7 separate regions of the Homo sapiens genome follow, and regions 2, 3, 4, 5, 6 and 7 are each linked to region 1. Evidence: promoter capture Hi-C in 16 types of primary human blood cells and fetal thymus (Javierre and others, 2016). All regions are on one chromosome and are shown on one strand. Each heading gives the region's core, a stretch centred on a gene start or on the middle of the fragment in contact. The rest is flanking DNA. Distances are from core to core; before and after follow the strand shown.

Region 1 (3,223 bases), core at 399-2,898:
CCACCACGCCCGGGCCACAACAACAATTTCAAGAGGACTCTTTGTCCCATCTTAAAGTTAAGAAACTTAGGTTTAGAAAGAGTAAGGTTCCAAACGCCAAGTAAGTGGAGCCAGGAAGTAAAACCCATCACTGCCTCCCAGGAAGGCTGCATTTATGGACCTTCAAAGGCTTATCGCCATAACTAAAAATCAACTGGAGGCCAGGCGCAGTGGCTCACACCTGTAATCTCAGCATTTTGGAAGGCTGAGGCATGCGGATCACCTGAGGTCAGGAGTTCGAGACCAGCCTGGACAACATGGTGAAACCCCGTCTCTACTAAAAATACAAAAATTAGCCCAGCGTGGTGGCGCACACCTGTAGCCCCAGCTACTCACGAGGCTGAGGCAGGAGAATCGCTTGAACCCAGGAGGCAGAGGTTGCAGTGAGCCGAGATCACGTCACTGCACTCCAGCCTGGGTGACAGAGCGAGACTCTATCTCAAAAAAATAAAAATAAAAATCAACTGGAGAAGGAAAGGGGGTTGGGGAGCATCCTCTGAATATATAAAGGCAGCCATTCATTGTAGGAGAGGAGGTAGAAGGAAATGCTGTTTGTCGATGGTTCTTTTCCAGAGAGGAAGAGAGGAGAAAGGAAGAGCGGGGAGCAGGTGGGGAGCCCGCAGTAAGACCCCACAGTGGGGCCAGGTGGTCTTGCACCCTGTATTCCCACTTTGGCTGGGGCCAGCCCAGAGTCCAGGCCAGCAGGTAATGCCCCAGCCATGCCCACTCGGTCCTATTGGATCCAACCTTTCCCTGCGTGGTACCAAACCTAAAGCCAGCTTCCCTCTCCTTGCAAAACAAAACCCCAAAGCTGGCACCACTGCTTCTCTGCCTCCTCACCAAAAGGTTTTCATGATGTCATGACATTAGTTTAAACCTAAAACTAAATGTATGTTTTATTTTAAAAAATAATAATTCCATGAAAAACTCCTGAAGTGCTTACAATGGAGACGTACAAAAAAATTGATTCGGGAATCAGCAGTGTGAGGGGGAGACGGCTTAATCTCTTCTATTTAAAGGCTTCTGGAACTTCACGGGGGCTCTGGGACAGGGGCGTGTTTAGAAAAAAGGCAGGATGTGTCAGATTTCTTCTGACTCTTCCTCCCCGGGGGAGCAGGAGCCAATTGCTTGCTTTCTCTTAAAACTAGTCCACACAGCCCCAAACCAAGTTCCCGGGAAATGGCCAGCCCAAAAATCCTGTTTCCCTGGAGATGTACCGTGCTTTACAGTGCAGGAAACGGGGACAGTACAGGCTGGCAAATCCTATTTCTGAAAGAGCATCCCACACACGGAGGAGGTTCGCTCTCCATCTCCATCGCCACCAGGAAGAATGAGGTAAAAAGCAGGAGGAGGCTCCGTTTGTCACGGGAAGATTCTCCGACTCAAACCTCCCACGTGCAATCGCTGCCTCCCGCGCCCGCCCCCTCACCTTGTTCGTGAGGTAAGAAGCCAGGTAGCAGGTACAAAAGGTGAGGCCGACCAGAGACCTCCTCACGCACATCTGTCAACTCGTCCCCTTCTCGGGGATCCACGGTGCCTGCCCAAATCCCCTGGCCGCCGCCCGACCCCCGCAGCAGCAGCAGCGGCAGCGGCAGCAGCCGCCCAGAGACGGCCACGTGGCTCCGAGCTCCGCCAATCAGCGCGGGGACCGCCCCCGGCGTCTGCCTTCTTAAAGGGGCCGCGCCCTCGAAGGACGGTCATTCTTCTTTTATTTTTTATTTTTTATTTTTTTATCTTCTTTTAAAGAGTAGAAAGTGGCAGAAGAGGAAAAAAGCATACCGCAGTTCACAATACCCCATCAGTGTTTAAAGAAAAATGTTCATCGCTATCTCTAAACTATGAGACCAAAATATTACCCGTGCTTCACTGAATTTTCCCAATTTTCTCCACTGAGTCTGTAGCGCTTTGGCAAATGACACAAAAAAGGTAACAGCAACAAATGTTCACTTAAAAGAGGGAAGGTGAAGGAAGAAGGAACTGGAATTGAGTATAGGTTTTTTGAGTTTTGTTTGTATTTAAAGTCATTCCATTCTCTTGACATTTCTATAAAATAAGAACCCTTTCCCAAGCACAGCCCCTATTCCTATTCCTATTCCTAGTCTATAGGGTGGAAAACTGGACTCATGAGGCTTCCGGCAAATGTTAGTAAACATGCAAGAAAACCTATTGATGGACTTGGACAATAGCAAAAAGTGCCAGTGTTCTCTGCCTGTAGAAACACACAGATTTTCAGAAACACCCACACACGGGGAAACCATCACTCTTAAGCCACAGCAAAAGTCCTCCTGGCTCTCGGTGCTGGAGCAGTGGATGGAAAACGACACACCAACCCTTATGTAATTTTTCTGTTTTTCAGAAGCATGCCTTGTTTCTCTCTGCTCCCTCCAGCATTGAGGGAGGGCTGACCTCGGCTTGTCCCCTTGAAGCCACTCCCCAGCCACCACTGTCTCATCGCAGTCCTTTGCCTCTGCTCACTTTTCCACAGGTCTCTTCCTGGGCCTGCTGGTTGGTCTGCAGAGGGGACCAACATAGAGATGGAGGTAGGCTGGTCACCCCTTCCCTCCCTTTTCTCCCACAGTCTCCTTCAAACCACTTGTACAGATGGGTATAGCTTTCTCTACCAAGACTGGATGATATGGTTTGGCTGTGTCCCCAAATCTCATCTTGAATGGTAGCTTTCATAATTCCCACATGTTATGGGAAGGACCTGGTGGCAGATAATTGAATCATGGGGGCAGTTTCCCCCATATTCGTCTCGTGGTAGTGAATAAGTCTCCCCAGAGCTGATGGTCTTATAAGGGGAAACCCCTTTCGCTTGGCTCTCATTTTTTCTCTCTTGCCTGCCACCATGTAAGACGTGCCTTTTGCCTTCCACCATGATTATGAAGCCTCCCCAGCCCCGTGGAACTGTGAGTCCATTAAACCTCTTTTTCTTTATAAATTACCAAGTCTCGGGTAAGTCTTTATCAGCAGCGTGAAAACAGACTAGTACACTGGGTTATTAAAAAGCAAAAATACAGAACAGGAAGAGAGGAGATGAAGCTTCAAATGCACTAAATTTTCCTCTCCATAGAAATAAAATCATGTAAGAAGTTAACACTTCACAAGGAGGCCCCTTCACAAGCCTACACTCGCTTCTCACCTATCACTCTTGCCCCAGAGTTTGTGTCTCCCTCTCCAAAAC
Region 2 (3,223 bases), core at 218-2,717, 490 kb before region 1:
GTGAGCTATGATCGCACTGCTGCGCTCCAGCCTGGGTGACAGAGCAAGACCGTGTCTCCAAAAAAAAAAAAAAAATACAAACCCACGATATCCCATACTTTCTTTATAGTTTTTATTTTTCCAGGGTAGGCATAGTGGCTCATGCCTGTAACCTCAGTTCTTTGGGAAGCCAAGGCAAGAAGATGATTGCTTGAGTCCAGTAGTTCAAAACCAGCGTCGCAGTATAGCAAGAACTCATCTCTACAAAAAATTAAAAATTAGCCAGGCATGTGACTGGAGTCCTAGCTACTCAGGACACTGAGACGGGAGGATTGCTTGAGTCCAGGAGTTTGAGCAAGCTATGATTGTGCCATTGCACTCCAGCCTGTGTAACAGAACAAGACCCTGTCTCTTAAAAAAATTTTTTTCTTGATATTTTTGTATATGTTACGGAAGGGCTGGGTGATTTGAGTTTGTCTCTATCCTTTTAGTGGTGAAATAATTTAATATTCTTCATATGTGCAAACTGAAATTGAGTACTTTCTACAACTACCAACTCAATGGATGCACATTTGTTGGAATAGGCAGTGTATTGTGGAATAAAGACCTGTGCGCTTTAGAATCACATATGTTTTTGAATTCCAGCTTCACCCTGTGTTCTTAATTCAGATTCCACAACAAATATTTGAGTCCTTGCTGTCTTAGGTGTTGCTCTAGGGGGCTAGGGATGATACTTTTCCTAGTATGTCATGGATTAAATGAGACAGTGCAAGTAACAATACATAACAGAAGTTGAATAAGACTTACATATCTTAGTTGGTGAATATAATTTAGCACTCCTGTCTGTGCATATATTTAATTTTCAAAGGTTGGGAGTGAGCCATACGACAAACAAATGAGACAATTTCAGATTATAAATGCTATGAAGAAAATAAAATCGAATTATGTAATTGAGTAACCACAGGATCTGTGTAGAAAAAAAAACCAAACGCAGCTTTTCCCACTGTACTCGTACAACATGCTTCAGACACCAGATGTGAGGAGGAGTTTCCCCTACCAACAAGCAAACAATTAATTCTACAGCAGACACTAGCTGGGTATCCTCTTAATTCAATTCCTACACTGGATATGGCATCAGGTCCCACAGGTTGAGGGCTTTGTCCCCATGACTGTGTCCTTCCCTCAATTCTGATGCCAATTTCAAGCCCCAGGTTGTTTACCCATGCTTTGGACAGACTCTAAATTGGGGTTCCCACAACCCCCTCCTCGGGTTATATTTACTAGAGTGACTCACGAAACTCAGGAAAACATTTATATTTATCAGTTTATTACAAAAAATTTGTTAAAGGTTACAAGTCAACAGCCAAATGAAGAGATACATGGGGTGAGGTCTAGAAGGATCCTAAACACAGGAGCTTCTGTCACCATGGAGTTGGGGTGCTGTCTTAACTGAGACTTGATTGACAGAAAGGAACCATCCACTTGAAGAACTAGAGACAAAAGGAAATAGAACAGACAAATGTGAAAGTCTAGGGTAGAAATAAGTTTGAAATATTTGAGGAACAGAAAGTCTACTGTGGTTCTAGTTTAATGAGTAAAGGGGATGAGTGATAGGAGTGAGATTGGAAATCTAGTGGGGCAACAACTAGATTTCGTAGGGACATAGGCAAAAAGTTTGGATTTTAATTGTGATGGAAACCACTTAAGCAGGAGAATAACAAAGGGATATAAGTAGGTAGCAACAGCCTGTCTATCCAAATGGAAATGTCAAGTAGATAGATGTATATGTGAATCTAGGATTCAGTGGATCTCTTAAGGACATCTTTGAATAGTATAGGAAGAAAGAAGAGGTCTTAGGGCTGAATCCTTTGGCATTCCTGATTAAGGTTTCATGAAGAATAAGGACCCAGCCAGCAAAAGATTGAGAAAGAGAAACTATTAAAATAGAAGAAAAGCCAGGAACATAGGTCTTGACCACTAACAATACCTTCTTTGCAGGGCTATTTTGAAGTTTAAATGAGATAATGGAAGCAGCAGTACATAACAGATATTTAATAAGACATATACTATCTCCTAATTGGAAGATGATTCCAACTTTTAGCACTCTAATCTGTGTTATATAACACAGCCATGTCTAGGCTGTCTAGCTGAGAAGCCAGGAAACTAGAAAGCCATCTCTCCCACTCACCCTTTCCCAGGTCAGCAATGGAAAGGAAATCATTAGTTACTCATCTGTAGTGTGGTGAGGCGCTTCCTTCTGTTTTCTCTGGATATGTAGTAGAGGATTTCAGGGAACATATCTCTCTCAGCCTTTAACTCCAGCCATTGAAGAGCTTCCTTCTCTTATTTCACCACGTTTTTTCTCTCATTTCTACCATTACACCACTTTCTACAAGCAGTGAGGTTGGAGTGAGTAATGGCATTAACGCCAAGAGATTAGGAATGCTTTTTGTTCCATCATTCCTATGTAAAGAAAATTTCAAGATTGGTATTAATAACGAAATATGTTAGCCTGAGTTCTCTGAGAAGCAAACATCAATAAGACTTTGGACACTGAAGAGATTTATTGGGAAAAATACCTGTAAGAAATGAGGCGTCTGGGAGAGCTGTCAGACCCTCATGCCTCTAACTCTGTGAAGAAGAGAGGGAAGAGGATACTGTACTTGTAAGAGAGCTTTGACAAAGCTAACAGGGAGTCCTGGAGCCATAGTTGCCCTGCTTTCCTCATTTATAGCAGGATCTGACTATGGGATGCCTGGTGTATTCACCTATGTGGAAACAGGTGAAGGATTTCACAGCACAGAAGGTGGAGCCAGGGATTTTATTCTCCTACTGTGGTAGGAGACAGTAAGATGACTGGCCAACTTATATTGACTTCCAGTACTCTTCCTGTTTAGTTGTTCCTTAGCAAGTTGTTAGAGCCCAAAATTATTACACTCAAATTTACTGGATAACATTTTCATTATGTTTTTCTTGAAACATTGGCTTAATACAATTGGCTCTCCATTTCATCCCCAAGATAGTATTCTTCATCCTGCCCCTTGAAGACATTGCTTTCCAGTGTCTTCAAAACACTCTTCATTTTATGGCTTAAAGTTTGAGCTTCCTGTTCTGGTAACCTTTGCAGTCTTGTACTTCCTTTTTAAGTAGTTTTTCTTCTCCAGGCCGTTTCAGAGAAGAAATCAGTGGATGAGTGCCTCATCTCCTTCCCATTAAATTACTTTCTTTTATGTAGTCTATATAT
Region 3 (3,223 bases), core at 484-2,983, 470 kb before region 1:
GTAAATTGGTTGTAATTAAATGGATGGTTTACATATATTTTTCCTTATTTAGTAAAAGTTCAAATGTCCTTTTTTGTACTTTTTGTAGATTTAATCTCATGCTTAATTTAGTAAGAAATAGGGTACAAAAAGGTTGTGCAAATACTGTCCACATTGGTCTTAAGTCATCAGTTGTAAGACAAGAAGCAGGTGGTGTTTTTTTTTTTTGGACATGTCCATATTTGCTTCTTTGGTTTTAATCTTTATTTCATGTAACCTTAATACTTAGTAAAGTTAAATACAAAGCAGACAATTTATTGTTCTACACTTGTTTTCTCTCTTGGTATTTATGACATACTGTTTTCATAAGTATACTATTTTCAGTTTATTCTCCTTACCTATTGAGTGTAGAGTTTTTCTACATTCTTAGCCGCCTTCTTTTATTCTTTTAATACTTCTGTTAACCTTATTCTCTTATAACTATTTATTTCTTTTGGTGACCATTACCTGGATTTCCCATAAGCAACTCACAATCAATATATTCAAAATCTAATTAATTATCTTCTTTTCCAAACTAATTCTGTCTTTTATTTTTTTCTGTTAATTATATTGCTACCCTGTGGTTATTCAAGCAAGAATATTGAATATATGCTCATTGTTTTTAAAAGAGGTAAGAAAGAATATAGCTTTATTCTGCTCCCAGAGGTAACTACTGTTAATAGTCTGATACATATCTGTCCAGGTCCAGGTTTTTCTGTCTCTGTGCCTTGTTAGACCCCGCTTCCCTCCCTTCTCTTTTGAATTTTAATGTTATCATACCATACTTTGTGTTCTAATGTGTTACTTCACTTTAGACTATGTCTTGGAAGTCTTTACATGTTAATATGTCTATAGATTCTGTGGTGTATATGGGTGAACGTGTGCATACATTTATTTAGGAATGTAAGAATATTATCAATGAGTAGAAAATTGTTACATCTCAATAAATATGTAGTTGTTCCTTGTCATCTGTAGGGTATTGGTTCCAGGACCCTGACGCATACCAAAATCCTTGGATGCTCAAGTACCTTATATAAAGTCACATAGTATTCGCATATAACCTACCCACATTCTCTTGCATACTTTAAATCATCTCTAGATTCCTTATAATACCAAATGCAGTCTCTACGCATCACTTCATTTGTGTGAATTAAATGTAGTATTCGGTGTCTGGCAAATTCAAGTTTTGCTTTTTGGAACTTTGTAGAATTTTTTTTTCCCAAATGTTTCCCATCCACAGATTTAGAACTCACAGATATAGAAGGCCAACTGTAGTTGAGATCCACAGTAATATTATTGTTAGTACTACTGGAAATAATCTCCAATAATGTCTACATATCTAATAGATTTCCAGCAACTTTATCTAAAATAGAGCCAAAAACTCCAAGCAAGCAAAAAAGCTTATCTAGGTGTTAAAGTATAAGACAACGTTTTTTTAAATGGCTGCATTGTATGCCATAGTATAGGTGTCAATTTTTTAGCTATTGTCACTTTAATGGACTGCTCAACTTTTTGTTTGAATGTTTGAGAATTTTTATTTTCTTACATCCTCTTCAGATTTGGGCAAAAATGTATTAATAATATTCAATCTGGTGGGTGAAGAATGATACCTTTTTAAAATTGGCATTCCCTGTTACTGTTCCAGTCAAGTATTATTTTATATGATCGTCTTCTTGGGTGAATGGCTTATTTATTCTTTGCCCAGTCTTAAATTGCCCTATTTGCTGTTTGTATCTTTTAATTTAGTGAATAACTAAGAGTTATTTATATATTATGGAAGGATTATTACACTTTGGTAGATATGCTGTGCATATATTTTCTACTTTGCCATTACCTGTTGACTTCATTTTATAACTACTTGACAAGTGGAAGTTTTGTATATTTTCTTACCTTGTTTAGGAAGGCTTTCTCTATCCCCAAGAATATAAAAATACACACACGTAAATTTGCATATTTAATCCATCTGGAATTTTTAACATGGAATGTGAAGTAGAAATTTACCATCTTTAGAATTTGCAGGCATTCATCCTCAAGCTTACTGTCTCACAGTCAAAAGATGGCAGGTACTTTTTCAGGCCTCGTAACTGCATTCATACAAGAAGGAAGAAGCAGCAGCAAAAGGCTGAAATGAGCATGCCAGGAGAGTCTTTAAAAAAAAAAAAAAGCTTCTTTGAACACCCACCCAATAACTTTTGCTTCAGTCTCACTAGCCAGGAACCACCCCGACCCTCCCACTCACTCCATCATTGGAAGATGACTAAGGATTTCTGAGGTCTTTCATTAGCTTTATTTTGCTGTAGATTGTCTAGGTAAAAATATTTGCAAATAGTGACAATTTCGTCTTTTCTTTCAATTATTTTTACAGTTTCTTTTGGTGATTGTTTTTCTTTACATACTTTATTGGCCTAAGGGGCTTTAGAATACTGCCCAGAATAGCAGTTGATACATAAGGGAAGACTAGACTATATTACATTTAAGTGTGCTGTGGCCTTCTAGTAGATACGTGAAATTAAGTTATGGATATTTCTTTCTGTACCTCTTTTGCCAAGTTTTGCTTAATTGTGAATTTATAAAACTCTTAGCATCTGTTCATGTAGTAAGTTTTACTGATAGCTTTTCTAGGGTGAACCAATGTTTAATTTCTTTTTTTTTTTTTTTTTTTTTTGAGACGGAGTCTCACACTTTCACCTAGGATGGAGTGCAGTGGCGTCATCTCTGCTCACTGCAACCTCTGCCTTCCAGGTTCAAGCAGTTCTCCTGCCTCAACCTCCCAAGTAGCTGGGATTACAGGCGCCCACCACCACGCCCAGCTAATTTTTTGTATTTTTAGTAGAGAAGCGGTTTCACTATGTTGGCCAGGCTGGTCTTGAACTCCTGACCTCGTGATCCGCTCACCTCGGCCTCCCAAAGTGCTGGGATTACCGTTGTGAGCCACCGTGCCTGGCCCCAGTGTTTAATTTCTAAAACAGACAGGCTTGATATGTTAATGTTTTAATTGGGGAACATACATTTAAATCATCATTTTGTTCATTCAGTTTTTCTGCCAGCAAGGTTCTGTTACGATCCAAAGAATTAGGGCAGGCGCGTTGGCTCACGCCTGTAATCCCAGCACTTTGGGAAGCTGAGGTGGGTGGATCACAAGGTCAGGAGTTCAAGACCAGCCTGGCCAAGATGGTGAAAACCCGTCTCTACTAAAAAAAATACA
Region 4 (3,223 bases), core at 203-2,702, 450 kb before region 1:
ATCTACATCATAACATATATCAGTACTTCATCCCTTTTTAAGAATGAACAAATCCCATTACATGGATGTGCTTCATATTTTACTCTTGAAGGAAACTCAAGGTCCCATGAGCCCCCTTGGTGATGAGCTCTACCACTGTCTGGAAGGAAATCACAAGAAACAGCCTTTTGAGGAATCTACAAGAAATACTGAAGATAGTTTAAGGTAATTAAGGGCACGTTGGTGAAAACTGATAAGCTATTGGTGAGATCCCATTACAATGAATTTCATATAATTAAGCCATTTCTCTCCTTCAACATATAGTTTGTTATTGTGGTTATATAAATGTTTACTTTAAAAATTGTCTCCCTAGTTTCTGACCAATTGAGAGCTTTTTTGCATTACAGTAGAAAGGTGGATATCATTTTTAGCTACTTTCTGTGTTTCTGTCAAGCAGTACTTGTTCCCAGTACTTGTCACTCTGCTCCTTTAAAGAGCCAGTCATCCCTTCGGGGTTTATATTTCCCAAAACTGGATGTTCTACAAAATGCATCTAGAAGCTTGGATGAGCTTCCAAGATTGTGTTGCATCTCATTTTTACTAATTTCAGAATACCTATTAACTAATAATACAGCCATTCCGTGATATCAGTGGGGGATTAGTTATAGGACCCCCTCCCCCATGGGTACCAAAATCCAAAGATGCTCAAGTCCGTTACATAAAATGGCCATCATTATTGCATATAACCTGTGCATATCCTCCTGTATATTTTATGTAATTTCCAGATTATTTATAATACCTAATACAATGCCTACATATCAATCCATTTGCAAAGATTCAACATAGTACTTGGCACATGGAAAATTCAAGTTTTGCCTTTTGGAATGTTGTGAAATTTGGATTTTTTACCCAAATTATTTTCTAGCCACATGGCTGAATCTACAGATGCAGAACCCACAGATAAGGAGGGCCACTGTACCTGTATTTATATAGCATTTTGCTTTTTAAAAGAGCTTTCAGTTTTTAGATATATAGATATCTATCTATCTATATATGTATATCACAGTCTGTCATCTTAGTAACTGATTAAAGTAGATTTTGTTACCCTAATTTTTGGGTTTATTTTACAGATTACAAAAATACAGCTCCAGAAAGGTTAAATGTCTTGTTTCAGGCCACATAGCTATTAAGTGGTAGAGCCAGAGATCTTACCCAGCCCACATCTTCAAACTTACTGCTCTTTCTACGCATATTTCCTCTGCTAGAGACAGGCTGAATCTTAATTTATGTTCAATTCTGTAGTGTAAGAATTTTGTTTCTTGGAGTTACTCATGATCAAATGTCGTAACAAAAGAACTTAGGTTCTCAGTGGAATTTATTAAAATATGATTTTTGTTTGTTTGTTTCTTGAGACAGAGTCTCACTCTGTCACCCAGGCTTAGCTCACTGCAACCTCCACCTCCCAGGTTCAAGTGATTCTCGTGCCTTAGCCACCAGAGTAGCTGGGATTACTGGCGTGTGCCACCACACCCGGCTAATTTTTGTATTTTTAGTAGAGATGGGGTTTCACCATGTTAGCCAGGCTGGCCTCGAACTTCTGGCCTCAAGTGATCTGCCCACCTTGGCCTCCCAAAGTGCTGGGATTACAGGCATGAGCCACTGCGCCTGGCAAAAGATGATTTTTTGTATAATAAAGTTATTTAAAGTACTTAGGAAAAATTTTTAAAATATGAATATTATGGTGTTGAGAAATACTTCCTATGTCATTTTCCTCTGCTTTTCCCCTTCTCTTTTGTCATCTAAATGAAGAGAAGCCAAAAGCTGTACCTTGTCTTAAATTTTGGTTAATCATTTGCTTCTAAGAGGTAGATAAGACCTTACTATTAATTCTGTATTAAAGAATTGTTATCACTCTTTATTTAGATTTTCAGATTCTACTTCAAAGACTCCTCCTCAAGAAGAATTACCTACTCGAGTGTCATCTCCTGTATTTGGAGCTACCTCTAGTATCAAAAGTGGTTTAGATTTGAATACAAGTTTGTCCCCTTCTCTTTTACAGCCTGGGAAAAAAAAACATCTGAAAACACTCCCTTTTAGCAACACTTGTATATCTAGATTAGAAAAAACTAGATCAAAATCTGAAGATAGTGCCCTTTTCACACATCACAGTCTTGGGTCTGAAGTGAACAAGATCATTATCCAGTCATCTAATAAACAGATACTTATAAATAAAAATATAAGTGAATCCCTAGGTGAACAGAATAGGACTGAGTACGGTAAAGATTCTAACACTGATAAACATTTGGAGCCCCTGAAATCATTGGGAGGCCGAACATCCAAAAGGAAGAAAACTGAGGAAGAAAGTGAACATGAAGTAAGCTGCCCCCAAGCTTCTTTTGATAAAGAAAATGCTTTCCCTTTTCCAATGGATAATCAGTTTTCCATGAATGGAGACTGTGTGATGGATAAACCTCTGGATCTGTCTGATCGATTTTCAGCTATTCAGCGTCAAGAGAAAAGCCAAGGAAGTGAGACTTCTAAAAACAAATTTAGGCAAGTGACTCTTTATGAGGCTTTGAAGACCATTCCAAAGGGCTTTTCCTCAAGCCGTAAGGCCTCAGATGGCAACTGCACGTTGCCCAAAGATTCCCCAGGGGAGCCCTGTTCACAGGAATGCATCATCCTTCAGCCCTTGAATAAATGCTCTCCAGACAATAAACCATCATTACAAATAAAAGAAGAAAATGCTGTCTTTAAAATTCCTCTACGTCCACGTGAAAGTTTGGAGACTGAGAATGTTTTAGATGACATAAAGGTTTGTGTTAAATGTTCAAGGATTTTGATTAAAATGATTGCTTGTGATTTCATTTAGAGCTAACAATTATTTCTGTTTTAGAGTGCTGGTTCTCATGAGCCAATAAAAATACAAACCAGGTCAGACCATGGAGGATGTGAACTTGCATCAGTTCTTCAGTTAAATCCATGTAGAACTGGTAAAATAAAGTCTCTACAAAACAACCAAGGTGTGTACACCATAAACAGGATCTCCACTTTTTTAATGACTTCAGATTGAATGTCATTATTTACTTTTTTAAATAGATTGAATTGTTTTGGAAAAAAACTTATTTCTTCCTTCAGGTGTCTGTATTTATAGGACGATTCTCACATTTTACCGGTGATTTTTCTGTTCTTTTTTTTTTTTTTTTTTTTTTTTGAGACGGAGTCTCGCTCTGTCGCCCAGGCT
Region 5 (3,223 bases), core at 429-2,928, 430 kb before region 1:
AGTGCAATGGCATGATCTTGGCTCACTGCAACCTCTGCCTCCTGGGTTCAAGCAATTCTCCTTCATCAGCCTCGCGAGTAGCTGGGATTACAGGTGCCCACCACAACACCTGGCTAATTTTTTGTATTTTTAGTAGAGACAGGGTTTCACCATGTTAGCCAATATGGTCTCGATCTCCTGACCTCGTGATCCACCCGCCTCGGCCTCCCAAAGTGCTGGGATTACAGGCGTGAACCACCACGCCTGGCGCTAAGCATCTTGATTTAACCATAATGCGACCTTCTGCCTTTCACAAGGACTGCAAATTCTGTTACTTATAGTCACCTACTATTTGTTCTTAAAGCAAATTGAAGACATAGTAATTCATTCAAAAAAAATTGTTATTTTTTTCTTTAAGATGTTGGTAAATTGAGTTACTCAGTAAAGTTACTCCTTTTATTTTTATTTCTGTTGAGAATTTTAGAAATCTAACAGGCCAAGATTTTTTTTATTCCTCTGAAACTCTTAAAGAGCTGTCATTTTGTTTAATGCTTAATTCTTCTTTTTTAGTTACCAGTTTTCCAAACAAATGGTACTCTAGCATTCCAAATGTGACTAGGTTGTTTTTTGTTTAGGTGTCATTATATACTCATCAATTTAAGTATATTTGATGTGTTGTAATCCATTGCAGTCATTATCCTTAGAGATACCCAGATTGTCCCATCTTTGCCTAAAGGAAAAGGAAGCTTCTTTCATAGGTTTCTTGCTTCTGTTATCTGGAATCTGCCATTTTTCTTGGAGCCCTAGTTCCTTTTAGTGAGAAATGGTGTTTAGGCCACAGTCTGGCTGCTAGGGTTGCACTTTAGTCATTGTTTCTCAGCCTTTTAGGTGGACAGAGTTAGGAAAAAGATTTTTTGTATGACTTTGATTTTTTTTTTTTTTTTTTTTTTGAGACAGAGTCTCACTCTGTCACCCAGGCTGGAGTGCAGTGGCACAATCTCGGCTCACTGCAAGCTCTGCCTCCTGGGTTCACGCCATTCTCCTGCCTCAGCCTCCTGAGTAGCTGGGACTACAGGCGCCCACCACCACACCTGGCTAATTTTTTGTATTTTTAGTAGAGACAGGGTTTCACCGTGTTAGCCAGGATGGTCTCGATCTCCTGACCTCGTGATCCACCCGCTTCGGCCTCCCAAAGTGCTGGGATTACAGGCGTGAGCCACCTCACCCGGCCATATCACTTTGATTTTTTAAGGTAAACTATACTTCATACTGATCGCTCTAACTCAAATTCAGGACCACAGGATATTTATGTAAACTCCTCTATCTTACATCTTTATTTACTTTCCCACCTACTGAAAATCCCACTTCTCAGTGCCACCAACATAATTCCTTAATTTATTTTATTCCACAATACACATAAAGCAGTTTCAGAATAATACCACCAATAATATAATTAATGAAAATTGTTTGAAAACTTTTTGTATGCTCTTTTGTCCTTAAAATATATTCTATTAGAAATGTACAGTAAAATCACTGCGTTTTTTTTTTAAAGTCATTTGGGATAATTATTTTTTGCAGTTATGCCACCAACTCAGTACCTTATTTTGCTTTTGATTTTTTAGGAATTGGGTTTTTTTCTTTTCATATTTAATTCTTTTAAAAGTACATAAAGTATAATGTATTTTATATATATATATATAAAATGTATATAATGGACACAAAGTATGTACATTGTACCAGACTACAAGTATATTCAGATAAATCTCACGTCTATTCTTGGCCTCTATATCTTATAGCTCCCTATCCCTATAGGTAATCATTTGTTTAAAATTTATGATTTTTCTTCTATCCTAAAAAATAGAAGCAAATACATGTATATAGTCATGCTATCCATGACTCATATAGAATATTATATATACTTTGCTCTACTTTGCTTTTTTAGACGGAGTCTTGCTCTGTCACCAGGCTAGGGTGCAGGGGCGCCATCTCAGCTCACTGCAACCTCCACCTCCTGGGTTCAAGCGATTCTCCTGCCTCAGCCTCCCGAGTAGCTAGGACTACAGGCATGCGCCACCACGCGCAGCTAATTTTTGTATTTTTAGTGGAGATGGGGTTTCACCATGTTGGCCAGGATGGTCTCGATCTCTTGACCTTGTGATCTGCCTGCCTTGGCCTCCCAAAGTGCTGGGATTACAGGCATGAGCCACTGCACCTGGCCTGCTTTTTTTATTTAACTATAGATCCTGGAAATCACTCAAGTTGTATATAGCGATATTCCTCATTTCTTTTTAGCTCCATAGTACTTCATTATGTGACCCTACTGTAGTTTATACCCTAGCAGTGGACACTTGGGTTGTTGACAGTTATGCCTAGTGCACACAGTGCTGCAGTGAATAACCTTGCACATTCTCTTTTCATATTTTTGCCTGTAGATCATTGAGATAGATTCCTAGAAGTAGGACTGCAGAGTAACAACTGTCATTTTCCAGGTGGCTCATGCCTGTAATCCCAGCACTTCAAGAGGCTTTGGCGGAAGAATCGCTTGAGCCCAGGAGTTTGAGACCAGCCTGGGCAACACAGTGAGACCTCGTCTCTACAAAAATTAAAAATTAGCTAGGTGTGATGGTGTGTGCCTATAGTCCCAACTACTCAGGAAGCTTTGAGAAGATCGCTTGAGCCCAGGAAGTCAAGGCTGCAGTAAGCTATGATCACACCACTGCACTCCAGCCTGGGCCAACAGAGTGAGACCCTGTCTCCAAAAAAAAAAAGAACTGTCATTTTAAATGTTTCATGTTAAAGGTTCACTAGTTTTTTAGAAAATATGTATGAGTAGTTTTATTTATTCTGAAGCAATTAGATAGCTGGAGAACAAGAGGTGAATGGAAGTGTGGGGATGGAGGCATGGAGATGCTAGAATTCTCAGAGTTACATTGTTGCTTTTTCCACTGAGAATACTAAGACTGCAAACCTGGGAAGATGGATTGTGTAGTATCAGGGACAAGAAGCTTGTTTAAGTGATGCTTTGAGGTCTACTACAGATGCTGTTCTGCTAGGAGATTCCCTACGTCACGATAAGACACTATAGAAGTGGAGTAGTTAATATTCAGAAGAAAGGATATGGCCAAAATGTGATCTGCATAATCTTAGGAGTCCATAAACTCTTTGAAAGAAAATATAGTTGTGGCAATATTTTTTGTGTGTACTTTTCTGGTTTCCCTTTTCTAATTCACAGATCACACCAGAG
Region 6 (3,223 bases), core at 444-2,943, 410 kb before region 1:
ACAGGATGTGTGGTTGGAGTTACATACTTCCAATGGATTTTGCTTTTTAAGAAGCAGCCTAAGCAGAAAGAGAGGTAGGGTTTGTCCACTTGATGGTAGCTTCACAGCTATCCATCCCATTTATAGCAGTTTTCATTTACTCTTCAGTTACCCTGTGAAGTTGAGTGAGCTGAGGTCTCTCTCCCATCTTATCTGCTGTGGACCAACTTCTGCCTTTAAATGGAGTAAGGAAATAGACACATTTTAAAAACATTTCAGTGGCAGGACACGGTGGCTTATGCCTGTAATCCTAGCACTTTGATGAGAGGCCAGGGTGGGTGGATCACTTAAGGTCAAAACCTTGAGACCAGCCTGGCCAACATGACAAAACCCCGTCTCTACTAAAAATGCAAAAATTAGTCAGGCGTAGTGGTGCATGCCTGTAATCCCAGCTACTCAGGAGGCTGAGGCAGGAGAATAGCTTGAATCTGGGAGGTGGAGGCTGCAGTGAGCCAAGATCACGTCACTGCACTCCAGCCTGGGCAACACAGTGAAACTCTCTCAAAACTAAAAAACATTTGGGTTAGATAACATTTAAATGCAAAATGGCTGTTTATGACACTGCACTCAAGCTTTTCTTTAAAAAGATAATGTATATTAAAGGGCTTTATACATTTGTAAAGCATTTGTATAATACACGTTAGATAATATTTTCATAAGAATGTATGTCATTCACTGGTTACATAGTTACATAGAATTTCAGGTTGCCAGCAAGCTTTTTTTTTTTTTTTTTTTTTTTTTTTTTTGAGATGGAGTCTCTCACTCTGTCACCCAGGCTGGAGTGACAGTGACAGTCTCAGCTCAATACAACCTCCACCTCCTGGGTTCAAGCAGTTCTCCTGCTTCAGCCTCCTGAGTAGCTGGGATTACAGGCGTGCGCCACCACGCCCGGCTAATTTTTGTATTTTTAGTAGAGATGGGGTTTCACCATGTTGGCCAGGCTGGTCTCAAACTCTTGACCTCAGGTGATCTGCCTATCTCAGCCTCCCAAAGTAGTAAGATTCCAGGCAGGAGACACCACACTTGGCCACTAGCAAGCTTTTTAAAGTTAGAGACTATTGATTTAAACTTAGGAAACATGTAGAACCTATATGTCGCACTTAACATTTGACTGACAGCTTGCCTACCTTTAGTAAAGAGATATTCTGATTAAGCCGTTTGAAACCTAAGGTTGTCAAATGGGACAGTCTGAATGAGTTAATCATGGATACCCAAATATGTGTAGAAGACATGATAATGTTACCTTGAGAGAAAAGCCAGATGAAACAGAAGAATATTCCCTAAAACATTTCATGCGGTGAAAAGTTTTCTCAAAGTCCAACTGGCAAGGCTGCTGCCAATAGGCTCAATATATTAGTAACTCAGTTTAAACTGCATCTAGGCCGGGCATGGTGGCACAGGAGCTACTTGGGAGACTGAGGTGGGAGGATCCCTTGAGTCCCGGGAGGTTGAGGCAGCAGTGAGCCAAGATCGCGCCAGTGCACTCCAGGCTGGATGACAGAGTGAGACCCTGTCTCAATAAATAACAAAATAGGCCGGGCGCGGTGGCTCACGCCTGTAATCCCAGCACTTTGGGAGGCCAAGGCGGGCGGATCACGAGGTCAGGAAATCGAGACCATCCTGGCTCGATTTAGGAGAGACGGTGAAACCCCGTCTCTACTAAATGTGCAAAAAATTGGCCGGGCGCGGTAGCGGGCGCCTGTAATCCCAGAGACTCGGGAGGCTGAGACAGGAGAATGGCGTGAACCCAGGAGGCGGAGCTTGCAGTGAGCTGAGATAGCGCCACTGCAGTCCAGCCTGGGCGACAGAGCGAGACTCCATCTCAAAAAAATAATAATATAATAATAATAATAAACTGCAACTAGCATGTATTTTTAAATGTATGTAGGGCATTAGACGCTCTGAAAGAAATAACTTTGAAAGAGGGCAAAGATTTCTCCCAAGATTGTCTTTCTTTAAATTTTTTGTGTTTTTTTTTTTTTATAGAGATGAGTTTTCACTATGTTGCCCAGGCTGGTCTTGAACTCCTGAGCTCAAGTGATTCTCCTGCCCCGGCCTCCCAAAGTGCTACGATTACAGATATGAGCCACTGAGCCTAGCTCCAAGATGGTCTTTCATTTGTAATTCAGTTACATAAAAAGACTAATGTTACATAAACCAAATAACACTAGTTCATTTATTTAACAAACATTTATTCAGCACTTTACCAGGCATGATACTAAGTACAGTGTCAGAATTAGACAAAATTTGACAAATATTCTCTAAAAGAGCAAGCTTTTAAAGAAACACCTAAGAATCTTACTTTGTCATCTTTGTCATCTCATAACATCCATGAGTTTAATTTTGAAAAATGCCACTGCAGAAATAAGCATTTGAACTGTATCTCAAATTTTACTATCCAACTGTGTATTTTCAGCATATCTAGCAGTTTAAGTGACACCTCAGTCTTTCTCTTTGCCGAGTTGAACTGTTAGAATAGTCCTTAGAAAGCCGAAGTGTTGACTGGACACAGTGGCTTACGGCTGTAATCCCAGCACTTTGGGAAGCTGAGGCTGGAGGTTCACTTGAGCCCAGGAGTTCAAGACTAGCCTGGGCAACATGGCAAGACCTCGTCTCATAAAAAAATAATAATAGGCCGGGCGCAGTGGCTCACACCTATGATCCCAGCACTTTGGGAGGCCAAGGCGGGCGAATCACCTGAGGTCGGGAGTTCGAGACCAGCCAGACCAACATGGAGAAACCTCATCTCTACTAAAAATACAAAATTAGCCAGGTGTGGTGGCACATGCCTGTCATCCCAGCTACTCGGGAGGCTGAGGCAGGAGAATCACTTGAATCTGGGAGGCGGAGGTTGCAGTGAGCTGAGATCATGCCATTGCACTCCAGCCTGGGTGGGCAACAAGAGCAAAACTCCATCTCAAAATAGTAATAATAATAACTAGGTGTGGTGGTGTGTGCCTGTAGTCCCAGCTACTCAGGAAGCTAAGGCGGGAGGATCACTTGAGCCTGGGAAGTCGAGGCTGCAGTGAGCCGAGGTTGTGTCACTGCACTCCAGTCTGGGTGACAGAGCAAGATCCTGTCTCACAGAAGAGGAAAAGAAAAGAGAAGAGAGACAAAAGAAAACTTAAGTGTCCTTACACTTGAATTCTTTGGCATGCACTTAAGCAAAGAATGAAACAGTTTT
Region 7 (3,223 bases), core at 532-3,031, 370 kb before region 1:
ACTGTAACCAAGGACTCCCATTTTTCTACAGGTGGTTTAATTATTCTTTTTTCCTTCTCTCTCTCTCTTCTTTTCTCCTTTCCCCAGCTCCCTATGTCCTACTGAGCCCTTCAAAAATGCAAACATAACCTTTCACCTCTCCCCTCACCAGACATTCCACACAGGGCAAATTATTCTGTGTTCTCCAAGACAGATCTCCCCTCCAGAGCTGACAGTCGACTTTCAGACCAAAGTGAAACTGACCCAATAGTCCCATAAACAGTTTTTTTGGATAAACATAGAAATTGACCCTTCTGGTCTTAAAGCTTGAAACTTAGGTTTGTTTTATCTGAGTTCCTTCCTCAGAAAAGGACTGGCAGAACTCTCAAAATGTATCAAAGAGCTGAAACTCACCAGATCATCTTATCTAGACAATGGGGCTCCAGTCCCCTCATTAATCATAATTGCTTCCTTACCCCTCCAGAATTCCTGTTTTCTCGCACATTGTTACATTTCTTCCCTGCTGTATAAACCCCTAATTTTAGTGGGTCAGGGAGATGGATTTGAGACTGAGCTACCATCGGCCACAGCACCCGATTAAAGCCTTCTCTCTTAGCAATACTTGTTGTCTCAGTCATTGGCTTCCCGTGTAGGAGGCCAGCAGGACCGAGACCAAATCGTTGGTGTTTTGGAAACAAAAGTATACCATGGCTAGGTGCGGTGGCTTATGTCTGTAATCCCAGTACTTTGGGAGGCCAAGGCAGGCAGATCACGAGGTCATGAGTTGGAGACCATCCTGGCCAATATGGTGAAACCCTGTCTCTACTAAAAATATAAAAATTAGCCGGGTGTGGTGGTGGACACCTGTAATTCCAGCTACTCAGGAGGCCGAGACAGGAGAATCACTTGAACTTGGGAGGTAGAGGTTGCAGTGAGCTGAGATTGTGCCACTGTACTCCAGCCTGGGCAACAGAGTGAGACTTTGTCTCAGAAAGAAAGAAAACAAAAGCATACCTGCCATGAAACTTTCACTGTCAGGGGGTTGCCTTGGAACTTTAATCCACCAAGAGGGCATATGGAAAGCATGCCCACTTGGCCACTTTCACAACTTACTTCTACCCAGGAAGGCACCAGCTCAACTGCCCCCATAAATAAGATGCCAAGTTAGGGGAACCCCTGCCCTTGCTCGTGTCTTCCCTTGCCTTATCAAAAATACCTGCTTTCTGCTCTAAAAGCAAAGTGGCACATTTAACGGCAGGACACTCTGTGCCCCTTCTCCAAGCTAGCTTCGGAATAAATTCACTTTTTTTGTGTCAGATCTCACTCGTGTTAACGAGACTGCACATTCAGAGAGCCACTAACTAGCATTTCGTTTACAATTTGGTAATTCTATGTTTAAATTTTGAGGACATGCCGAACTGTTTTCTACAGAGGTTGCACCATTTTATATCCCCTCCAGCAACATAATGAGGGTTCCAATTTCTCCACATGCTTGCCAACACCTATTTTCCTGTTTTTAAAAAAATTGTTGGGCTGGGCGCAGTGGCTCATGCCTGTAATCCCAGCACTTTGGAATCCAGCTGAGGCGGGCGGATCACGAGGTCAGGAGATGGAGACCATCCTGGCTAATATGGTGAAACCCCGTCTCTACTAAAAATACAAAAAATTAGCCGGACATGGTGGCGGGTGCCTGTAGTCCCAGCTACTCGGCAGGCTGAGGCGGGAGAATAGCGTGAACCCGGGAGGCGGAGCTTGCAGTAAGCCGAGATTCAGCCACTGCACTCCAGCCTGGGTGACAGAGTGAGACTCCATCTCAAAAAAAAAAAAAAAAAAAAAAAAAAAAGGCCAGGCGCGGTGGCTCATGCCTGTAATCCCAGCACTTTGGGAGGCTGAGGCGGGTGGATCACGAGGTCAAGAGTTCGATACCAGCCTGACCAACATGGTGAAACCCCATCTCTACTAAAAATATATATATATAAATTAGCCTGTCATGGTGGCGTGCACCTGTAATCCCAGCTACTTAAGAGGCTGAGGTAAGAGAATCGCTTGAACCCGGGAGGTGGAGGTTGCAGTAAGCTGAGATCGTGACACTGCACTTCAGCTTGGGCAACAGAGTGAGACTCCATCTCAAAAAACAAACAAAAAAATTGTTGTAGCCATCCTAGTGTCATTGCCTATTTTTATGAAGTTTTATTGGAACATAGCCATGCTGATTTGTTTGCATGTCTATGGCTGCTTTTGCTACAATGGCCAAGAGGGTATTGCCCTTAAGCCAAAAATATTTACCATCTAGCCTTTTAAGACAAAGTTTGCTGACTTCTGTTTTAAATTTGCTTTTCTTTTTAATTTGTCATTTTATGTCACAGCTCCCCAACATAAGACCAAATAATATTGCTGCAAACTAGGGTGAGTCAGCTTATTTTTAGTCTTAAATTTCCTTATCTATAAAAAAGATAGGGTCATTGATTTTCAAGTTGTCTTTTGGCTGTTTTTTTGGTTTTGTTTTTTTGTTTGTTTGTTTGTTTGAGACGGAGTCTCACTCTTGCTCGGGCTAGAGTACAGTGGTGTGATCTTGGCTCACTGCAACCTCTGCCTCCCAGGTTCAAGTGATTGTCCTGCCTCAGCCTCCCAAGTAGCTGGGATTACAGGAGCATGCCACCACGCCCAGCTAATTTTTGTATGTTTAGTAGAGACAGGGTTTTGCCATGTTAGCCAGGCTGGTCTCAAACTTCTGACCTCAGATGATCTGCCCACCTCAGCCTCTCAAAGCGCTGGGATTACAGGTATGAGCCACCATGCCCGGCCTTCTTCTGGCTGTAATAGTCTACAATGGTATTTCCAAAAATGAGTATTTTGCAGTTTATACTTTTTTATGCAGTCTATAACTTGCCCAGCTTTCTTCTGGCTTAAATTAATGGTTTCTTTCACAACTCTTTTTGATTTATTCATCATATAATCAGGGAACGGTAGCCCATTCCTAGCTCGTGTTGTTCTTTCTCTGTACTGAGCTGCAGTGATTTAGTGGGATTTTCCTAAGAAGGTATGAACAAACTATCAAGTGGAAATTCCTGGCTCTTGTAGAGAGGAAAAAGGAATCCTGTTAAAGCCGAATGGCGTCATTGATGATTTCTTAAACAGACAGCTGCGTCCAACTTAAGACCAAGTCCTCCTCCTCGTTCCTCAACCTGGAAAGGCAGGGCCAGGAAGAAAACAGACAGGAAAGGAGCGAGAGAGATCAGATTAT

What was found. Contacts are between HindIII fragments. The CHiCAGO score rates a contact against its expected background, and 5 or more counts as called.
Region 2: a fragment that was not itself captured here is called in contact with the fragment with the promoter of SLC35D4 in region 1 in 3 of 17 cell types (total CD4 T cells, fetal thymus and activated CD4 T cells); the score reaches 6.5 in total CD4 T cells.
Region 3: a fragment that was not itself captured here is called in contact with the fragment with the promoter of SLC35D4 in region 1 in 2 of 17 cell types (total CD4 T cells and total CD8 T cells); the score reaches 5.7 in total CD4 T cells.
Region 4: a contact is called between a fragment that was not itself captured here and the fragment with the promoter of SLC35D4 in region 1, in 1 of 17 cell types (activated CD4 T cells). The highest score is 5.3, in activated CD4 T cells.
Region 5: a fragment that was not itself captured here is called in contact with the fragment with the promoter of SLC35D4 in region 1 in 4 of 17 cell types (non-activated CD4 T cells, endothelial precursors, total CD4 T cells and 1 more); the score reaches 6.4 in non-activated CD4 T cells.
Region 6: a fragment that was not itself captured here is called in contact with the fragment with the promoter of SLC35D4 in region 1 in 5 of 17 cell types (naive CD4 T cells, endothelial precursors, naive CD8 T cells and 2 more); the score reaches 8.7 in naive CD4 T cells.
Region 7: a contact is called between a fragment that was not itself captured here and the fragment with the promoter of SLC35D4 in region 1, in 5 of 17 cell types (naive CD4 T cells, endothelial precursors, non-activated CD4 T cells and 2 more). The highest score is 7.8, in naive CD4 T cells.

What each region holds. Positions count from the first base shown.
Region 1 is chr18:23,436,313-23,439,535 of GRCh38, forward strand. SLC35D4 (solute carrier family 35 member D4) reads right to left here and starts at 1,649. Exons shown (of 15, transcript NM_032933.6): 1 at 1,469-1,649. The coding sequence starts at 1,540. RefSeq lists a silencer at 1,678-1,777. The HindIII fragment of the contact is 5,255 bases long and covers 1-3,079 here.
Region 2 is chr18:22,950,513-22,953,735 of GRCh38, forward strand. The region is part of intron 4 of RBBP8 (RB binding protein 8, endonuclease); the gene reads left to right. Among named protein-coding and RNA genes, the nearest start is that of RBBP8-AS1, 18 kb to the left of the region's middle. RefSeq lists an enhancer at 1,349-2,037. The HindIII fragment of the contact is 7,109 bases long and covers 1-3,223 here.
Region 3 is chr18:22,968,981-22,972,203 of GRCh38, forward strand. The region is part of intron 5 of RBBP8 (RB binding protein 8, endonuclease); the gene reads left to right. Among named protein-coding and RNA genes, the nearest start is that of RBBP8-AS1, 37 kb to the left of the region's middle. The HindIII fragment of the contact is 634 bases long and covers 1,417-2,050 here.
Region 4 is chr18:22,990,846-22,994,068 of GRCh38, forward strand. It overlaps RBBP8 (RB binding protein 8, endonuclease), which reads left to right. Exons shown (of 19, transcript NM_002894.3): 10 at 92-204; 11 at 1,903-2,794; 12 at 2,876-3,002. Among named protein-coding and RNA genes, the nearest start is that of RBBP8-AS1, 59 kb to the left of the region's middle. The HindIII fragment of the contact is 1,830 bases long and covers 538-2,367 here.
Region 5 is chr18:23,007,863-23,011,085 of GRCh38, forward strand. The region is part of intron 16 of RBBP8 (RB binding protein 8, endonuclease); the gene reads left to right. Among named protein-coding and RNA genes, the nearest start is that of RBBP8-AS1, 76 kb to the left of the region's middle. The HindIII fragment of the contact is 1,911 bases long and covers 724-2,634 here.
Region 6 is chr18:23,028,448-23,031,670 of GRCh38, forward strand. No RefSeq gene overlaps it. Among named protein-coding and RNA genes, the nearest start is that of RBBP8-AS1, 96 kb to the left of the region's middle. The HindIII fragment of the contact is 1,236 bases long and covers 1,076-2,311 here.
Region 7 is chr18:23,063,206-23,066,428 of GRCh38, forward strand. No RefSeq gene overlaps it. Among named protein-coding and RNA genes, the nearest start is that of CABLES1, 71 kb to the right of the region's middle. The HindIII fragment of the contact is 2,957 bases long and covers 304-3,223 here.